Linked DNA regions of Homo sapiens: all the other regions are linked to region 2. Evidence: promoter capture Hi-C in 16 types of primary human blood cells and fetal thymus (Javierre and others, 2016). All regions are on one chromosome and are shown on one strand. The core of a region is centred on a gene start or on the middle of the fragment in contact, and the rest is flanking DNA. Distances in the headings are between cores, read along the strand shown.

Region 1 (4,599 bases), core at 1,284-3,783, 230 kb after region 2:
ATGGCTTGAGCCTGGGAGGCAGAGGTTGCAGTGAGCTGAGATCACACCACTGCACTCCAGCCTGGGCAATAGAGCTGGACCTTGTCTCAAAAAATTAAAAAATTGAAATAGCAGTAATAAGTAAAATTAGGAAAGACACAGAAAAACCATTTATGTTATAGAGCTTCATTACTCAGCAGTTGAATTTGCTTAACTTTTAAAATAATTGTTTCTTTCTTATTTTGAAATTTTCCATCCTATAAATAAATTAAAAGGATAGTACAATGAGCCAGGAGTGGTGGTTCCTGCCAGTAATTCTGCACTTTGGGAGTCCAAGGCAGGAAGATCACTTGAGGCCAGAAGTTTGAGAACAGCCTGGGAAACACAGCGAGACCCCATCTCTAGAAGAGATTTTAAAAATTAGCTGGGTATGGTGGCATGCACCTGTAGTCGTAGCTACTTGGGAGGCTGTGGTGGGAGAATCACTTGAGCCCAGGAGTTTGAGGTGGTAGTGAGCTGTGATCGTGCCACCACATTCCAGGCTGGGCAACAGACTGAGACCCTATTTTAAATAATAATACAAAATAACGAAAAGAGTATAATTGACTTGTTTGTGACACCAAGGATAAATGCTTGAGGTAATGGATACCCCATTTAACTTGAGGTAATTATTACACATTGTATGCTGGTATCAAAATGACCCCTGTACCTCATAAATATATACAGCTACTAAGTACCCACACAAATTAAAAATTAAAAAAAAATGATAGTACAATGAATAGCTGCATATCCTTAACTTTTGTTTAGCAGTTTGCATATTTTGCCACTTTTTCTTAATCTCTCTATATATTTACGTATTTGTTTCTGGCTGAATAATTGGAAAGTATTAGTAATTGCGAACATCGTGACACTTAAGCAGCATAAGGACATTGTTCTATTACAACTACCATAGCATTATCATACCCCATTGAAACTAAAATATAACTAGTTGATATAACTGGCCTCTCAAAGTGCTGGGATTACAGGCGTGAGCCACTGCGCCCAGCTGCATAGTCATATTTTAGTTTCAATTATATTTTAGTTATATTAACTAATTAGTTACATTAACTAATTAGTTATATAATTAAGTTAACTTTCCAGAGAAACTTCACACTAATCTAGCAATATATTGTCCCTATTCAGATTTCCTCATTTGCCTCAAAAATGTATTCAAAGTTGTTTCCTCCACCCCTGTCCAAGATCCAGTCAGGGTTTACACATTTAATTTGATGGCTATGTCCCAGTGGAATTTGCTTTAGATAAGTTTATAGTGCTGTTATTTATAGGGCTGTAGTGATGTTGAAGAAAGTGAACACATAGAAACTAAATACGGTTAGTATTTTTGTATATATCAGGAATACCAGTAATGCTCTTTTATAAATCTATTTTCTTTCACATCTTGTCTCATTTGTTAGACACGCTCTTTACTCAGGGAATATAGCACATCTATAGCTACGAGAGGTGTGATGCATTCCAACAAAGCCCGAGGATATGCTCATTGCCAAGGAGGAGGATCAAGTTTTCGACCCTTGCACAAACCTCAGTGGTTTCTAATAAATAAAAAGGTAAAAAAAAAAAAAAAAATTCTGTACTTTCAATATGTGAACTTTATGGTACGTGAATTATAACTCAAAGCAGTTATTTTCTTTAAAACATAACAAAGGAAAAAATATTTCATTTTTAATAAAATAGTTGCTAAGGTCCACAATTAGATTCTGAGTTTTTATAAAACATAAAAAGGTGACTCTTAAATGCTTGTACAATTTTTTAAGGGAAAAAAGACCATCACAATTTGAAAATATTAGTTCAGTTTTATTGGAATCAAAGCGTAGTTACATTTTATTTTATTTTTTATTTTTTTATTTTTTGAGACGGAGTTTCGCTCTTTTTGCCCAGGCTGGAATGCAATGGCATGATCTCGGCTCACTGCAACCTCCGCCTCCCGGGTTCAAGCAGTTCTCCTGCCTCAGCCTCCCAGGTAGCTGGGATTACAGGCGCCAGCCACCACGCCTGGCTAATTTTTTGTATTTTTAGTAGAGACAGGGTTTCACCATGTTGGCCAGGTTGGTCTCGATCTTTGGACCTCATGATCCTCTTGCCTTGGCCTCTCAAAGTGCTGGGATTACAAATGTGAGACACCATGCTCGGCCATATTTTATTTTTTATTTTTTATTTTTATTCAGACAGAGTCGTTCTCTTGCCTAGGCTGGAGTGCAGTGGTGCCATCTCTGCTCACTGCAACCTCTACCTCCTAGGTTCAAGCAATTCTCCCACCTCAGCCTCCTGAGTAGCTGGGATTACAGGCATCTACCTCCATGCCCAGCTAATTTTTGTATTTTTAGTAGAGATGGGGTTTTGCCATGTTGGCCAGGCTGTTCTTGAACTCCTGACCTTAAGTGATCTGCCCGCCTTGGCCTCTCAAAGTGCTGGGATTACAGGCATGAGCCACTGTGCCCAGCTGCATAGTTATATTTCAGTTTCAATTAAAAACAAACTTTAGGGCCAGGCATGGTGGCTCACACCTGTAATCCCAGCACTGTGGAAGGCCAAAACAAGAGGATCACTTGAGCCCAGGAGTTTGAGACCAGCCTGGTCAACATAGTGAGATCCCATATCTACAAGAAAAAGAAAAAAATTGTAAATAAATAAACCCTAGTTCAACCTGAGAATGCTGATTGGAAAATAGAAATCCCTAGTATATAAAATTTCAGTTAGGCAGGAGGAATAAGTTTTTTTTGTTTTTGGTTTTTGAGACGGAGCCTCGCTGGCCAGGAGGAATAAGTTTTAAGTTCAAGAGATATGTTGTATAACATGGTGACTATTAACAACAATGTGTCATGTATTTGAAAATCATGGCCGGGCATGGTGGCTCACGCCTGTAATCCCAGCACTTTGGGAGGCTGAGGCGGGCAGATCACGAGGTCAGGAGATGGAGACCATCCTGGCTAACACGATGAAACCCTGTCTGTACTAAAAATAAAAAAACTTAGCCGGGTGTGGCGGCGTGCGCCTGTAGTCCCAACTACTCTGGAGGCTGAGGCAGGAGAATGGCGTGAACCCAGGAGGCGGAGCTTGCAGTGAGCTGACATGGCGCCACTGCACTCCAGCCTGAGAGACAGAGCGAGACTCCATCTAAAAAAAAAAAAAGAAAATCACTAAAACGGTAGATTTTAAGTGTTCTCACCACACACAAAAAATATATGTATGTAAGGTAATGCATATGTTAATTGGCTCAATTTAGCCATTCTACCATATATACATATTTCAGAACATCATGTTGTATACCTATAAATACATACAGAGCTTATTTGTCAATTTAAATTAATCAAAGAAAGGAGAAGAAATCTTGGCCTTGCCTCTATATGGACAAGGTATTCACCTAATGTGTTCTTACTCTCCACAGCTAAAAATGTAGATGATTGAATTATTTAGAGGTAAAAAATGGGAGGCACACAAGTTGAAAACAAAATACACAACAGTTTTCAAAATGAATTGCCAATCTTTAAAAATCAGACTAATGATTAAAAGTCAGATATGAATTTCGGCTGGGCGCTGTGACTCACACCTGTAATCCCAGCACTTTTGGGAGGCTGAGGCGGGCAGAACACAAGGTCAGGAGTTCGAGACCAGCCTGACTAACATGGTGAAACCCCATCGCTACTAAAAATACAAAAGTTTGCCAGGTGTGGTGGTGCGCTCCTGTAATCCCAGCTACTCAGGAGGCCGAAGCAGGAGAATCGCGTGAACCCGGGAGGCAGAAGTTGCAGTGAGCCGAGATCATGCCACTGCACTCCAGCCTAGGCGACAGAAAAAGACTCTGTCTCAGAAAGAAAAAAAAAAAGTTAGATATGAATTTCTAGCTTCAGAATTTCTGGAATCTCCTGGTTAAAAAAAAAAAAAAAAAAAAGAGGCCAGGTGCAGTGGCTCACACCTGTAATCCGAGCACTTTGGAAAGCTGAGGTGGAAGGATCACTAGAGCCCAGGAGTTTGAGACCTGCCTGGGCAATATGGTGAAACCCCATCTGTATAAAAAAAAAAATAATAAAAAAATTAGCTGGGTGTGGTGGCAAACACCAGGAATTTGAGACCAGCAATATAGTGAGATCCCATATCTACAGGAAAAAGGAAAAATTTTTTTTGTTTTTCCTACCTAGTCCCAGCTACTTGGGAGGCTGAATTGGGAGGATTGCATAAGCCTGGGAGGCAGAGTTTGCAGTGAACAATGATTGTGCCACTGCACTCCAGCCTGGGCAACAGAGTGAGACCCCCATCTCTCAAAAAAATGAAAGTGAAGTATAACACTGGCTCATATTTCTGCGTAGCAACAATCACCTCGCCATGTAGCATCTGCCCCTTTGAGATGAGAGTAGTAGGCACCACTGTCCCCAGCTGGTTCATTCACTTATATTGCCTGCTTGACTTCTGTAATATCTGAATTCGTGACCCCTGGACTGGGTCGTCTCTGAGATGTCTTCCAGTTCTAAAATCATACAGCTGAAAATTACCCTATAATTTATTACCTAGGACATTTTTTCCAACAGATTTCTTGGAGAATTTAATGACTTTTAAGCAATTTATATC
Region 2 (4,400 bases), core at 1,214-3,713:
GAGGGTGGATCACGAGGTCAGGAGATCGAGACCATCCTGGCTAACATGGTGAAACCTCGTCTGTACTAAAAATACAAAAAATTAGCCAGGCCTGGTGGCGGGCGCCTATAGTCCCAGCTACTTGGGAGGCTGAGGCAGGAGAATGGCGTGAACCCGGGAGGCGGAGCTTGCAGTGAGCCTAGATGGCGCCACCGCACTCCAGCCTGGGCAACAAAGCAAGACTCCGTCTCAAAAAACAAACAAACAAACGAAAAACAAAAACAACTTACGTCCACTCAAAAATCTGCACACAGATGTTAGTAGCAGTTATATTCATACCAAAACTTGGACGCAATCAAGATGTCACTTAGTAGGTGACTGAATAAATAAACTAGTACATCCAGACAATGCAATATTATTCAGGGCTAAAATAAAATGAGATCCCAACCCATGAAAAAAACATGGAAGAACCTTAAATGCATATTTGAGTAAAAGAAACCATTCTGACCGCCAGGTGCAGTGGCTCACGCCTTCAATACCAGCACTTTGGGAGGTTGAGGCGGGTGGACATTATACGTCATTATATATTTGTCAAAACCCGTAGAAGACACAACACCTAGAGTGAACCTTAATGTAAACTATGGACTTTGGGTAATACTGTGGTGTCAATGTAGGTTAACAGATTATAATTAAAGTACAACTTTAATGTGGGGTGTCAATAGTGGGGAAGGCAGGTGAAATGCTCTATACTTTCTGCTAAGTTTTGCTGCGAACCTAAAACTGCTCTAAAAAATAAAGCATATAAAAGGAAAAATTTGGCCGGGCGTGGTGGCTCACGCCTGTAATCGCAGCACTTTGGGAGGCCGAGGCGGGCGGATCACCAAGTCAGGAGATCGAGACCATCCTGGCTAACATGGTGAAACCCCGTCTCTACCAAAAATACAAAAAATTAGCCGGCCGTTGTGGCGGGCGCCTGCCGTCCCAGCTACTCGGGAGGCTGAGGCAGGAGAATGGAGTGAACCCTGGAGGTGGAGGTTGCAGTGAGTCGAGATCGCACCACTGCACTCCAGCCTGGGCGACAGATCGAGACTCCGTCTCAAAAAAAAGTAAAAAAAAAAATTTTTAAACTGGAACACAGAGGATAAGTAATCCTGCTTCGCCCCTTGCCTCTCGCCCCTGCATGGGGCGAGGAAGGATTGATCAAACCCAGAAAGACTGAGTGAGAATGGATGTTGAACACAGAACTGAAGGATGAATGGGAGTTACCTGAATAGAACCCAGGGGCTTGAATGCAAGAAGAGGCGGGCATTCCAGGCAGAGGAGAGCAAGGGTAAGGGCCCCACGGGAGGCATTCGAGTAGGAGGGTGAACTATGATGACAGAAGACTCAATAACGATCCAAAGAAACCAAATGATTGGGCGCCTTCTTTCGGATCCGTGACTTCCAGCGCCAGGAGTCTCTATTGGCTCTTATACCGTTGCTCTATGGGATAGCAATGTTTTTGTCCTTCAGCCTCCCCTCCAATTGCTGAGCTGCTGGTGTGTTTTGAGGAGTAGAAGGCAAAAAGAACCCTCTTGTTTTTCTTTGGATCTAGAGAGAATCTGAGCAAATGACAAAGCAAATGGGGTAAAATGTCTTTTTGTTTAGTTTTTCCTGATTTTCCCATGAGAGGCAAATACATGTTAAGGATAGTTGAATCTGAGTAAAGGGCATAGAAATATTCCTTACAAGATTTTTGTTGGCAACTGGTCTAAGTATGAAATTATTTCCAAATAGAAAGCTAAAACAAACAAAACAATTGGCCTTGGGAAACTGGACAATCTTGAAGTAATCAAGTAATATTGTTAAGGGACAATCAGTGTTGTGAAAACAACACGGATACACCCCCTCCCTCCCCCTCAAAAAAAAAAACCCTAAATTCAGTTCCCCCGTTGCTAATGTGTGACCCTGGCAAAGTCATCTAAGTCGCTGAGCTTCAGTTCCTCCAACCCAGAGAGTTGTTGCAACGATCAAATGAAAGAATGTCTATTAAAGCCTTTCATGAACTATATTATTGCTGCTACCGTAGAAATGGAAAGTGTGCAACACTAGATCCAAAACTACTTTTGACACTTCTGAGACTGTGGCCGCGCCTCTGTCACCTTCCAAAGGCCACTAGGCCTTTCCTGAGCTGGCATTGGCAACGCACACTCTTGCCCGGCTAACCTTTCCAGGTGGGCGGCGCACTGGCTTCACTGCTCTCCAGGTGGCCGCTGCAGCTGCCCGAGAGCGCAGGCGCAGAGGCAGACCACGTGAGAGCCTGGCCAGGCCTTCCGGCCTAGCCTCACTGTGGCCCCGCCCCTCTCGAACGCCTTCGCGCGATCGCCCTGGAAACGCATTCTCTGCGACCGGCAGCCGCCAATGGGAAGGGAGTGAGTGCCACGAACAGGCCAATAAGGAGGGAGCAGTGCGGGGTTTAAATCTGAGGCTAGGCTGGCTCTTCTCGGCGTGCTGCGGCGGAACGGCTGTTGGTTTCTGCTGGGTGTAGGTCCTTGGCTGGTCGGGCCTCCGGTGTTCTGCTTCTCCCCGCTGAGCTGCTGCCTGGTGAAGAGGAAGCCATGGCGCTCCGAGTCACCAGGGTGAGCCGCTTCGGACTGCGAACTAACGCGGCCTTCTTAGCTGCTGCCTGCTCTCCCTGCCTCGCCTGCGGGAGCCTCCCGAGCGGGAGAGGGCCGCAGGAGCGATTTGGGGAGGAAGGTGGGAGGGGACTCACCAAGAGAGCGCCGAGGTGGGCCCAGGCCTGGTGAGAGAGTGTGGGGGACGATGGATGGAGGGAGGAAGGTGAGAAAGAGAACTGGACGGATATTGGATAAATGTTTTGGGGAGGTGGAGAGTCGACTGGGAACCTTTTGAAAAAGTGATAGAGGGTCCCTGAGTGGGCCCGCCAGCAACTCTGTAACCCCCTTCCCAGAGAGAAGGTGTCTGCAATTGGAGGCTTTTTCGGTTTCCTTTCAAATGTAAATTCTCGGTATTTTAGGGCTGGCCAGGACTAATCAGGGAATCCCTCAATTGGTAAATGTAGAGGTCGGCGGAAACTGACTTGTCACGGCCGCAGAGTAGACTCTGGGACCCATGTTTTCCCTCGGAACCCATTTTTAGTCGGCTTTCTTTCTGGGAACTTCTCCTTGTGCCCCACCTTAATTAACCCTTGACTTACTCGAGCCTTCGTGGATCAGCTCTTAAAGTGGTCTTGCTTCTTTCAGAACTCGAAAATTAATGCTGAAAATAAGGCGAAGATCAACATGGCAGGCGCAAAGCGCGTTCCTACGGCCCCTGCTGCAACCTCCAAGCCCGGACTGAGGCCAAGAACAGCTCTTGGGGACATTGGTAACAAAGTCAGTGAACAACTGCAGGCCAAAATGCCTATGAAGAAGGTAACTCTCTTCCTGACCTAACTTCTGTAAGAGCCCGCCTTCCAACTGTGGCCTTTGATGCAGAAACATTTCATTCTCTCTGTTTCATCTACAGGAAGCAAAACCTTCAGCTACTGGAAAAGTCATTGATAAAAAACTACCAAAACCTCTTGAAAAGGTACCTATGCTGGTGCCAGTGCCAGTGTCTGAGCCAGTGCCAGAGCCAGAACCTGAGCCAGAACCTGAGCCTGTTAAAGAAGAAAAACTTTCGCCTGAGCCTATTTTGGTAAACTTATTCTTACCATTGTAGAGTCTGTTGATTATTTCTTGTCCCTTATTTCACTGATACATGCAAGAGCATTCAAATGAATAGTAATATTAATACCATTTATTGAGTGCTTAGCATGAGGCAAGCTCTGCCTAACATTTTACATGCATTAACTCACATAATCTTTACACGTACTCTCTGAGGTATTGTCACCTCTACTATTTAAATCATGGCTTTAGAGAGGTTATGTCAGGGTCACACAGGTAAGTGGCCCATATGGGATTCAAGCTCAGGCTGTCTGGCTTCAGAATCTATGCTTTTAATTGTCAACTGTCTTATATTCCTTCGTTAATGATATTAAGTAGTAGCTGTCTGAGCCAAAGGCTTTGTTATCCAACTACAAGCCATCTCTGCAGAATTTATTGGCGTAAACATAGAATGTTCTCTTGAATTTTTTTACTGCTGCATATGGCTACTAAATAATAAGCCTGTAACATTGGAATATGCAAAGGAGTAAAACAGGAAGAAGGCAACTTTTCAGGGAGTGGTTAAGAAGATGAATTAACACTTAGCCTCAAAAATAATAACTTTTTATTAAATATAAGGTATGTAAATGTATTCTATGATAGACCTACCTGTGAAGGAAAGGTAGGTCATGTAGAGGAGGCTGCTTTGATGAAATTGCAATGAACTGTATTCTGAAGCTCTGTTTTTTTAAACTTAGTTAAAACCAGTTGGGAAAATTATCTGAAAAAAACTTG
Region 3 (4,486 bases), core at 143-2,642, 180 kb after region 2:
ACACTGAAGCTAATACTTTTTAGCTATTATCTTGGATAAGCCACTTAACTCTTCTGTGCCTTGGTTCCTGTAATGGAAATAATAATAACATCTACCTCAGAGAGTGGTCATGTGGATAAAGAATTCACTTTTGAAATGTGTTTAGAAGTTTATGTCATAGTAATATATTTACTCTTTATTATTCTTGCATCATTGTAATAGTAAAAAGCTGGAAACAGCCTAAATGTCCATTAGTGAGAGGACTGATTAAATCAAACTTGGCATGTCTTTTTTTTTGAGACAAGTTCTCACTCTGTCCGCCCAGGATGGAGTGCAGTGGCTCAATCACAGCTCACTGCAGCCTCGACCTCCTCAGGCTCAGGTGATCCTCCTGCGTCAGCCTCCTGAGTAGCTGGGACTATAGGTGCATGCCACCACTCTGGGCTATTATTTTATTTTTATTTATTTATTCATTTTTTTGGAGACAGTGTCTCACTCTGTTGCCCAGGCTGGAATGCAGTGGCACAATCTGAGCTCACTCCAACCTCCGCTGCCTGAGTTAAAGCGATTCTCCTGCCTCGGCCTCCGGAGTAGCTGGGATTACAGGCATGCACCACCATGCCTGGCTAGTTTTTGTATTTTTGGTAGAGACGAGATTTCACCATGTTGGCCAGGCTGGTCTCGAACTCCTAATCTCAAGTGATCCACCTGCCTTGGCCTCCTAAAGTGCTGGGATTACAGGCATGAGCCACTATGCCCAGCCTCTTTTTTCTTTTTTTTAAATAGAGACGAGGTCTCACTATGTTGCCCAGGCTGGTCTCGAACTTCTGAGCTCAAGTGATCCTCCCACCTAGGCCTCCCAAAGTGCTGAGATTACAGGAGTGAGCCACCATGCCTGACCTATTTTTTTTTTTTTTGCGACAGAGTGTGGCCCAGCCTGGAGTGCAGAGGCACTATCTCGGCTCACTGCAAGCTCTGCCTCCCGGGTTCATGCCATTCTCCTGCCTCAGCCTCCCGAGTAGCTGGGACTACAGGTGCCTGCCATCACGCCTGGCTAATTTTTTGTATTTTTAGTAGAGACGGGGTTTCACCGTGTTAGCCAGGATGGTCTCAATCTCCTGACTTCGTGATCTGCCTGCCTCGACCTCCCAAAGTGCTGGGATTACAGGCGTGAGCCTCCGCGCCCGGCCTGGCCTATTTACTTAATTAATTAATTTATTTATTTATTTTTAGGAACAGTGTTTCACCATGTCGGCCAGGTTGGTCTCAAACTCCTGGGCTTAAGTCATCCGCCCGCCTTGGCCTCCCAAAGTCCTAGGATTACAAGTGTGAGCCACAGTGCCTGGGTACTTGGCATATCATTAATGGCTTTTTTTTTTTTTTTTTTTTTTTGAGATGGGAGTTTCACTCTTATTGCCCAGGATGGAGTGCAATGGTGCAATCTCGGCTCATTGCAACCTCCACCTCCTCGGTTCAAGCGATTCTCCTGCCTCAGCCTCTCAAGTAGCTGAGATTACAGGCACCCACCACCACGCCCGGCTAATTTTTGTATTTTAGTAGAAACAAGGATTCACCATGTTGGTTAGGCTGGTCTCAAACTCCTGACCTCAGGTGATCCACCCACCTCGGCCTCCCAAAGTGTTGGGATTACAGGCATGAGCCACTGGGCCTAGCCTCATTAATGCCATTTTATGCAAACATTAAAAAGATGAGGGATCCAAAGAAGATAAACCAATAGGCACATGAAAAGATGCTCATCATAAATCATTAGAGAAATGTAAATCAAAACCAAAATGTGATATACTACTCACCCACTAGTATAGTTATAATAAAAAAGATGGGAGTTGCCAGGCAAGGTGGCTCACGCCTGCAATCCCAGCACTTTGGGAGGCTGAGGCGGGCAGATTACCTGAGGTTGGGAGTTCGAGGGAGAAACTCTGTCTTTACTAAAAATACAAAATCAGCCGGGTATGGTGGTGCATGCCTGTAATCCCAGCTACTTGGGAGATTGAGGCAAGAGAATCGCTTGAACCTGGGAGGTGGAGGTTGAACCCTTGAACCTGCAGTGAGCTGAGATCACGCCATTGCACTCCAGCCTGGGCAACAAGAGTGAGACTGCCTCAAAAAAAAAAAAAAAAAAAAAAAAAAAAAGGCCAGGCGCGGTGGCTCACGCCTCTAATCCCAGCACTCTGGGAGGCCAAGGTGGGCAGATCACGAGGTCAGGAGATCGAGACCATCCTGCCTGACATGGTGAAACCCCGTCTCTACTAAAAATACAAAAATTAGCCGGGCGTGGTGGCAGGCGCCTGTAGTCCCAGCTACTTGGGAGACTGAGACAGGAGAATGGCGTGAACTCGGGAGGTGGAGCTTGCAGTGAGCCGAGATTGCACCACTGCACTCCAGCCTGGGCGACAGAGCAAGACTCCGTCTCAAAAAAAAAAAAAGATGGGATCAAGCAGTCATGGTGTTCTCGATGCTGGAGGGCCTACTTGACCTATCACCAGAAGGTGTTGCTGCTTTGTAACCAGGCGCTGTACCACCTCAAGCCATGGTGCATCCAGAGATAAATAATGGTATATTTTGCCTGTTTGATGAGAGCCTGGTTTGAAGAGCATAGGAAAAAAAAAAAGGGTATGATGGAGGCTACCCCACTGCTGAGGGAGGCAGAGGAATTCTGGTATCGTCAGCATTCACAGCCATTCTCTTCCCTGACTCTCTGGGGGTACTTCCTATGAGAGATACGAGTGATATGCTACAAGTCTCTGGAGTGGTGCTTAGATGACTGGAATCCTTCTGAGAAGGCAATGTACCCTGATTACTTAGCCAAGAGAGAGCAGTGGAAGAAACTGCTGAGGCAAAGCCAGGAGTGAGAGGTTAAGCAGCTGCAGGAGGAAATCCCAACTGGTGGTCTAGGACTGAAGCTTTGCCCCCTGTGGTGGTATATTGTGACCAGACCCCGGGAGTGGCCCATGTAGAGAGACAGACCTCACCCTGTCATGCCTGCAAGTGAAGTAAGTTACAGAACATACACACACACTTAGCCTAATAAAAATCGCTGAAATGGTAAAAATCAACAAATATAGACCGTAACAAGTGTTAGCAAGAATGTGAAGAAACTGAGTCCCTAATACATTGATGGTGGGAACATAAAATGCTGCAACCACTTTGGAAACCAGTTTGGCATTTCCTCAAAAAGTTAAACATGGTTGCCCTATGACCCAGCAATTCCCCTCCCAGGTATATGCCTAAGAAAACTGAAAACATACATCCACATGGAATCTTGTACATGAATGCTCATAGTATGCTACTATTATGTATTCAACTTCACAATACCCAAAGTGGATACAACCCAATTGTGCAAGTGATGGAAACATAAGCAAAATGTGGTAAATCCATATAATGGAATATTATTCAACCATAAAAAGGAATGAGATATTGGTACATGCTATAACTTAGATGAACCTTGAAAACATTATGCTAAGTGAAAGAAACTGGACACAAAAGGCCACATACTGTATAATCCCATTTATATGAAATATCCAGAATATGCAAATCCATAGAGACAGAAAGTAGACTAGTGACTGCAAGGGGATGAGGAGGAAAGAATAGAGAGTGACTGCTAAAGGGTATAGGAGTTCCCTTTATCATCACTGCTTCCTCCACAGTGGTGACAGTTACATAACCTTGTTAATAAGCTAAAAACCAACGGATTATAAATTTTATTTATGTTTATTTTTAGAGTCTAAGGTCTCACTATGTTGCCCAGGCTGGTCTTGAACTCCTGCCTCAAGCGATTCTCCACCTCAGCCTCCCCATTTGCTGGGATTACAGGCATAAGCCACCATACCCGGTTCTGATTATACACTTCAAAATGGTAAATTTTATTGTATGATATGTATATCTATCTCAACTAAAAAAAAGAACAGGGAGGTCTGTACTGAGATGATATAATCTTCAAATATAGTAAGTGAAAAAAGAAAGGTACAGAATAGTGTGCATAATATACTGTTATATTCTTTAAAAAATGTACACATGTACATATACACTGTGCAGGCATAAAACCTCTAAAAAGACATATAGGAAACCAGTAACATTATTTCCTAAAGGGAAGGAACCTGGGGTGCCTGGGGATAGGGTGGTCTGGAAGGGAGACCTAACTTTTCAACATGCTCTTTTGTACCTTTTGAACTTTGTATCGAGTACAACACTTAACTTTTTTTCTAATTTAAAGAAAGAAAAAAGGAATACTCTGTTGCTTTATCTTTAGTTTTATTTTAAGAGATCATCTGCATTTTTTTCTGTAATAAACTTAAAAGATATCCACCCATTTTGTCAGATTTATTTATTCTTTAGCAATTTAAGTATTAAAATCACAGTTTTTGTCTCAATCCTTAATAATACTATATTCATTATATTTCATGTTTAGCTTTCTCATGGAGAAAAAGAAACACAGGCATAAACCTATATACTATCCACCTGCTGGTTCTGCAACATGATTTTAATAAAG

Evidence for each region. Contacts are between HindIII fragments. The CHiCAGO score rates a contact against its expected background, and 5 or more counts as called.
Region 1: a fragment that was not itself captured here is called in contact with the fragment with the promoter of CCNB1 in region 2 in 12 of 17 cell types (non-activated CD4 T cells, neutrophils, naive CD8 T cells and 9 more); the score reaches 10.6 in non-activated CD4 T cells.
Region 3: a contact is called between a fragment that was not itself captured here and the fragment with the promoter of CCNB1 in region 2, in 17 of 17 cell types (neutrophils, total CD8 T cells, monocytes and 14 more). The highest score is 21.2, in neutrophils.

The regions. Positions count from the first base shown.
Region 1 is chr5:69,394,964-69,399,562 of GRCh38, forward strand. It overlaps RAD17 (RAD17 checkpoint clamp loader component), which reads left to right. Exons shown (of 19, transcript NM_133338.3): 16 at 1,434-1,583. Among named protein-coding and RNA genes, the nearest start is that of MARVELD2, 18 kb to the right of the region's middle. The HindIII fragment of the contact is 7,678 bases long and covers 1-4,599 here.
Region 2 is chr5:69,164,687-69,169,086 of GRCh38, forward strand. It overlaps CCNB1 (cyclin B1), which reads left to right and starts at 2,464. Exons shown (of 9, transcript NM_031966.4): 1 at 2,464-2,597; 2 at 3,222-3,392; 3 at 3,487-3,657. The coding sequence starts at 2,577. RefSeq lists enhancers at 2,144-3,109, 2,490-2,719. The HindIII fragment of the contact is 10,262 bases long and covers 1-4,400 here.
Region 3 is chr5:69,347,495-69,351,980 of GRCh38, forward strand. AK6 (adenylate kinase 6) reads right to left here. Exons shown (of 5, transcript NM_016283.5): 5 at 3,490-4,486. It also overlaps the pseudogene NDUFB9P1. Among named protein-coding and RNA genes, the nearest start is that of CCDC125, 17 kb to the left of the region's middle. The HindIII fragment of the contact is 3,012 bases long and covers 1-2,898 here.